Linked DNA regions of Homo sapiens: region 1 is linked to region 2. The links are contacts of gene promoters, found by promoter capture Hi-C in blood cells and fetal thymus (Javierre and others, 2016). All regions are on one chromosome and are shown on one strand. The core of a region is centred on a gene start or on the middle of the fragment in contact, and the rest is flanking DNA. Distances in the headings are between cores, read along the strand shown. Region 1 has its middle 16 kb from the start of DDX51. Region 2 holds the start of P2RX2 (purinergic receptor P2X 2).

Region 1 (3,149 bases), core at 28-2,527, 490 kb before region 2:
GCATCTCACACTCATCATTCAGGGCCCTTAGGCCAGAGTGGGGCTGGACTGAGCCCCTTCCTTTTGGAGGCAGCCGTTAAACAGAGCTGAGGAGGCTCCCTGCATGGGCTTCTGGAGGTGGGGAGGGGCCGAGTGTCAAGGAACTCTGACCCTGTAATTTTTACATATATTTGCTCTCTAGGGGAGAGCTTGCTTTGCTGTATAGTATAATTTTTCAAAAATATTTACAATGATTTCTGTGAAAAATCACTCTGACAAGGACTTCTATTTCTGGTAATATGGTAGATGAGAGAACCTGAAAATCTATCTCAACAAAACATCTAAAAATGCCAGATTTTCAAAAAGTGCCAGATAAAATATATAAAACCGTGAATGAGTCTGCAGGATAGTGAGTCTAGAAACCAGGCGAGGGCTGAAGTCTAAGGAGGTAGTTCTGTGCTAAAGACACTCTATGGCCTGGGTCCCCATGGACCCAGATGACCTAGAACTTTGAGGTAAGTTTGGGGAGCAGTCTGGAGAAGCCTTGGGCCCAGGGAGGGGCAGAACCAAATTGGAGACCCCCATATAAGGCTGGGCTCACAGAGGGATACAGCAAACACTACCAGGAAATGATGAAGTGGGCAAACTACTACTCTAAGCTTCACTGCAGAAACAGTATCTCACTTGGCCATGGCTGTGGATGGAACATCTTTAAAAAGTCTCTCCTATAAATTTATGGCCCCTGGCTAGCACTCTCCATCACAGGTATAGGGCCAAAGTTCATATTATTTACATGTTCAAAAGAACTGCAAACTGTGACTTTTAATTGCAAGCATATCTGGAGCTATAGTGCCCCCAGGCCTCTGGTAGAAAGAAATGTATGTCCTTGCAGGAGGAACCCCCAACCCAGGCCTCAAGGAATTCCAGCCAGCAGGATCCCTAGACTATAAGCTCATAGTGGAAAATCACAGCACACACAAGAGAAGGGGCCTCAGAAGTTATGGCCAAAAGAAGCACACCTGCAAAGACTCAGATGTTAGAATAGGAAATGCAAATATGTTTAATGTGTTTGAAGAAACAAAGGAGAAGCTAAAAAGCATAAATAAGCAAGAGAGTATCAGAGGCTAAGCAGATAATAAATGAACCAAATAGAACCTCTAAAAATGAAAAATGTAATAATTGAAATTCAAAACTTAATGGAAGTAATCTTGATCCCTACCTCACACCCCATAGAAAATTAACTCAATGAATCATAGACCCAAACATGAAATTCAAAACTATGAAACATAGGAAAAAAGTTTTGTGACTATAGGTTAAGTAAACATTTCTTAGATATGACACCAAAAATAGAGCCTATAAAAGGAAAAAAATTGGCAAGTCATACTTTAATAAAATTAAACCTTCTTGCTATGTGAAAACCATTGTTTAGAGAATGAAAAGACAAGTTACCAGGAGAAAACCTTTGCCAGTCATGTAGCTGATTAAGGACGTGTAACCAGAACATACAAAAAACTGTCAAAGCTCACTAATACAAAAACAACTTATTTTGTACAGTGGGCAACAGATTTGAGCAGACACTCCACCAAAGAAGCTCTCTAGGTGGCAAATAAGCACTGTCCTCTGGGAAATGCAAATAAAAATCACAATGAGAAACTACTGCACACCCGTGAGAATGCCTTAAAAAAAAAAAAGACAAGACCAAAACCAAGTGTTAGTGAGGGTGTGGAACAACAGAAATTCTCATACCTTGTTGGTGGGACTACAAGATAGTGGAGCCCTCTGGAATCAGTTTGGCAGTTTCTTATAAAATAAAACAATCATTTACTGTATGACCCAGCAATCCTGCCCCTCATTCTTTATACCAGAGAAATGAAGACATATGTCCACACAATAACCAAATACTGTAACCACAATGAAAAATGATGCAAGTGTTCACAGAAGCTTTATTCATTTACCTAAAACTGAAAGCAACCCAGACACTCTTCAACTGGCCAATGGGTAAACAAACGGCAGCCCACCGGTTCCATAAAACAGCACTCAGCAGGAGACAGGACTGGGCCACTGATGCTGGGGGCAGCGGGGATAAGCCTGAAATGTCTTATGCAGAGTGAAAGAGGCCACACTTAGAAGGCTGCAGTTTTTGTTTTTATATGACATTCTGGAAAAGACAACACTATAGCAACAGAGAAGAGCTCTGCAGTCACGAGGGGCTGGGGCAGTGGAAGGACTGACTTTCAGAGGGACAAGAGGGAATTCTGGGGGGCTGTGGAAAGATTCTGTATCTTGATGCTGATGGTTGTTACATGGCTGTGTGCATTGATCAAAACTGAAGTATGCATCAGAAACAGCGACTTGGACTGTATGTAAATTATACTGCAGTTTTTTTGTTTGTTTGTTTGTTTGTTTGTTTGTTTTTGAGACGGAGTCTGGCTGTGTTGCCCAGGCTGGAGTGAAGTGATATTGGCTCACTGCAAGCTCCGCCTCCCAGGTTCACATCATTTTCTTGCCTCAGCCTCCCAAGTAGCTGGGACCACAGGTGTCCACCACCATGCCTGGCTAATTTTTTTGTATTTTTAATAGAGACAAGGTTTCACCATGTTAGCCAGGGTGGTCTCGATCTCCTGACCTTGTGATCTGCCCGCCTCGGCCTCCCAAAGTGCTGGGATTACAGGCGTGAGCCACCGTGCCCAGCCTATACTGCAGTTTTAAAAAAGTTAATGGAAGGGTTAAACAATACATTAGAGAATTTGCGAGCTACAGAGAGATCTGGAGAAATAATCATGATAGCATGAGACTAGCAAACAAGACAAAGAAGACAGGCTGGCTGCAGTGCTCAGGCCTGTAACCCCAGCACTTTGGGAGGCCAGTGTGGGTGGATTGTTTGAGCCAAGCAGTTCAAGACCAGTCTGAGCAACAGAGTGAGGCCCCGTCTCTGCAAAAAAAATAAGAAAAGAAGAGGGAGGGGTGAGAAGATCTCACATTCAACTGAGTTCCAGAAGAGAATGAAAAAAGAAAATATTCAAAGAGTGGATGGCTGAGAATTTTCCAGAATGGGTTTAATTTACCAGTCTAAAGACTGAAGAAATACAACAAGTCCCTAGCAGGATACAGACAAAGATACCTGTGCCTGACACATCTGGGCAAACTGTGGCACTCAAAGCAGATGAGAA
Region 2 (3,103 bases), core at 234-2,733:
ACTGTGCCCAGCCAACAGAGTTTAATTGAGCAAAACACAACTCATGAATTGGGCAGCACTCAGAACCAATGGGGGAGGTTCGAGAGCTCCACTCTGTAATGTGGGCAGGAAGTTTTTATAGATAGAACACAGAAGTGAGATACAAAAAAAAAAAAATCACAATTAGCTTGATTTTGTTACTGCTTGAAATGTTTGCCTTATATGGCATGATCAGATCAGTTAGCAGCCTGTGACTGGCTGAGACCCAGCTATTTGTTCCAAAATATACTCATAGGTTAAGCTTTTAGCTTGTTTCTGTGGTACATTAGGTTGCAGTTTGTTGTTACCTAGAAACTCAAGGCACAGAGGCAGCCTGTTAATTGAGTTAATTTAACAGTTCAAACAAATACTTATGCACCAGTGTTTATAACAGCACTATTCACAGAGTTAGTTTGAAAGCAATCTAAATTCCTTCTTTGGATAGCCTAGACATTTCTCCTGGCCATAAGAAGGGGTGATGCCCTGACACATGCTACAATGTGGATGAACCTTGAAAACATGCTCAGTGAATGAAGCCAGACAGAAAAGGCATTAACCCAGAAACAAATATTGCATTTCCTTGATATGAAATATCCAGAACAGGCAAGTCCATTCACTGAGACAGAAAAGCGACCAGTGGTTGCCAGGGCATGGGAGGAGTGTGGAACGGGTCGTGACTGCTTAATGGATGGGAGTTTTATTTTGGGGTGGGGAAAGTGTTTGGGGACGAAACAGAGGCGGTGGTGGTTGCACAATGTTGTGAATGTCACTGAATTGTTTACTTTAAAATAGTTAATTACATGCTATGCTGATTTTATCATAATAAACTATTTTAAAATTATTTTGTGAAAAACTGTGATGCTTGGGATTTGCTTCAAAATAATGTGGGTGGGGTGGAGGTTCGAAAAGTTACCAAAAAAAAAAAAAAAGAAAGAAAGAAAGAAAGAAAACTCTGGCTTGCAAAGAAGAAAACGGATCGGCCGTGGATCCCTCTCCAGCTCGAGGGCTGGAGCTGCGGCGGAGGCAGGAGCTGGAAGCGAGGCGTCTGCTGGCAAAGGCGGGAGTGCAGGTTGCGCTCGAAGCCCCGGCAGCCGCGGCAGGAACCGGCCTGGACGGGGTGGGGGGCGCCGCGGAGGCCGGCGGGACTTCCCATGTCTTTCTCCTCGAGCTCGGAAAAAGTTCCCACCCGGGGAATCCCGACCCTCCAACTTCGAGACCGCCGGTTCCGCGCTCGGCCCCCACCTGGACCAAGAGCTGGGGCTGGGCTGCCGCGCCCCCGGCTCTGTCCCCGCGAGGCCCCGCTCCCAGCCCCACCTGGGACACCCGGGACTCCCGGGACACCTGCGGGGCGGGGCGGGGCCGGGGCGAGGCGGGGCGGGCTCGAGGCCGCACCCCGGAGGCGGAGCCGCGAGCTACCCGCCCGCCGCGCGCCCCCCGCTCTCGGTGCGCAGCGGGGCCGACCCTCAGCCCTGCAGCGCCTTCCTGGAGGTGGGGGCCGCCCGCGCCATGGCCGCCGCCCAGCCCAAGTACCCCGCCGGGGCGACCGCCCGGCGCCTGGCCCGGGGCTGCTGGTCCGCCCTCTGGGACTACGAGACGCCCAAGGTGATCGTGGTGAGGAACCGGCGCCTGGGGGTCCTGTACCGCGCCGTGCAGCTGCTCATCCTGCTCTACTTCGTGTGGTGCGCGGGGCGCGGGGTGCGGGGCGCGGGGTGCGGGGCGCAGGGGAGGGGCTGGGATTGGGGGCGCTGGGCTGGAGGCGCGGGGCTGGGGCTGGGGCTGGGACCGGGGGCGCGGGGCAGGGGCTGGGGCTGGGACCGGGGGCGCGGGGCAGGGGCTGGGATTGGGGGCGCGGGGCAGGGGCTGGGACTGGGGGCGTGGGGCAGGGGCTGGGACTCGGGGTGCTGGGCTGGAGGCGCGGGGCTGGGGCTGGGACCAGGGGCGCGGGGCAGGGGCTGGGGCTGGGACCGGGGGCGCGGGGCAGGGGCTGGGGCTGGGACCGAGGGCGCGGGGCAGGCCCCAAGAGCCCCGCAGAGCGGACCCGGGTCGCGGGAGGGCCCCTGCCGTGCCTGCGGGCGGGACTCAGCCTTCCCAGGGTCGCCTCCGGAGCCGGCGCCGCCCCTGCCCGCAGGTACGTATTCATCGTGCAGAAAAGCTACCAGGAGAGCGAGACGGGCCCCGAGAGCTCCATCATCACCAAGGTCAAGGGGATCACCACGTCCGAGCACAAAGTGTGGGACGTGGAGGAGTACGTGAAGCCCCCCGAGGTGCGGGCCGCCCCCTGCCCCCCGCCCCGCCGTGCACCCTACCCTAGTGGGCGGAGGGGGCAGCGGCTGCCGCCTGGCCGACCGCCCCCTCTTTCTGAGCCCAGGGGGGCAGCGTGTTCAGCATCATCACCAGGGTCGAGGCCACCCACTCCCAGACCCAGGGAACCTGCCCCGAGGTGAGGGGATCCCGCGGCGCTGGGGGACCCCGCCTCAGCTAGGCGGGCCAGCTGTCCCTTGCGGGGTCCCTGACTGGGCCGCCTCCACCCTAGAGCATAAGGGTCCACAACGCCACCTGCCTCTCCGACGCCGACTGCGTGGCTGGGGAGCTGGACATGCTGGGAAACGGTCGGTGTGCGCCAGCTGGGGCTGGGCGGGTGGGGCAGGGCTGCGTCCCCGCTAATGCCTCAGTGACCTCTGCCTCCCAGGCCTGAGGACTGGGCGCTGTGTGCCCTATTACCAGGGGCCCTCCAAGACCTGCGAGGTGTTCGGCTGGTGCCCGGTGGAAGATGGGGCCTCTGTCAGGTGCACCTGCGCCCCGGCCTGGGGCCCAGCCTCCCCTCTGATCCTTTTCCCCTGACCAGAGGCCAAACGGGCGGGGCAGGAGTGACAAGATCTGGGGAGGGGTGGGGGCCAATGCCAGGCGGGGGCTTTGCGGGAAGAGGGGACTAAACAACCCTTCTGTGCCTCCTCAGCCAATTTCTGGGTACGATGGCCCCAAATTTCACCATCCTCATCAAGAACAGCATCCACTACCCCAAATTCCACTTCTCCAAGTAAGAGCCGCGGGGTGTGGTGACGGCCCAGCCTGAGGGCTGCCTTCT

Evidence for each region. Contacts are between HindIII fragments. The CHiCAGO score rates a contact against its expected background, and 5 or more counts as called.
Region 1: a contact is called between a fragment that was not itself captured here and the fragment with the promoter of P2RX2 in region 2, in 2 of 17 cell types (M0 macrophages and total B cells). The highest score is 7.7, in M0 macrophages.

The regions. Positions count from the first base shown.
Region 1 is chr12:132,127,227-132,130,375 of GRCh38, forward strand. It overlaps the pseudogene LOC107987169. Among named protein-coding and RNA genes, the nearest start is that of DDX51, 16 kb to the right of the region's middle. RefSeq lists an enhancer at 1-420. The HindIII fragment of the contact is 1,282 bases long and covers 637-1,918 here.
Region 2 is chr12:132,617,293-132,620,395 of GRCh38, forward strand. It overlaps P2RX2 (purinergic receptor P2X 2), which reads left to right and starts at 1,484. Exons shown (of 11, transcript NM_170682.4): 1 at 1,484-1,697; 2 at 2,147-2,282; 3 at 2,387-2,458; 4 at 2,552-2,627; 5 at 2,708-2,804; 6 at 2,975-3,055. The coding sequence starts at 1,525. The HindIII fragment of the contact is 12,004 bases long and covers 279-3,103 here.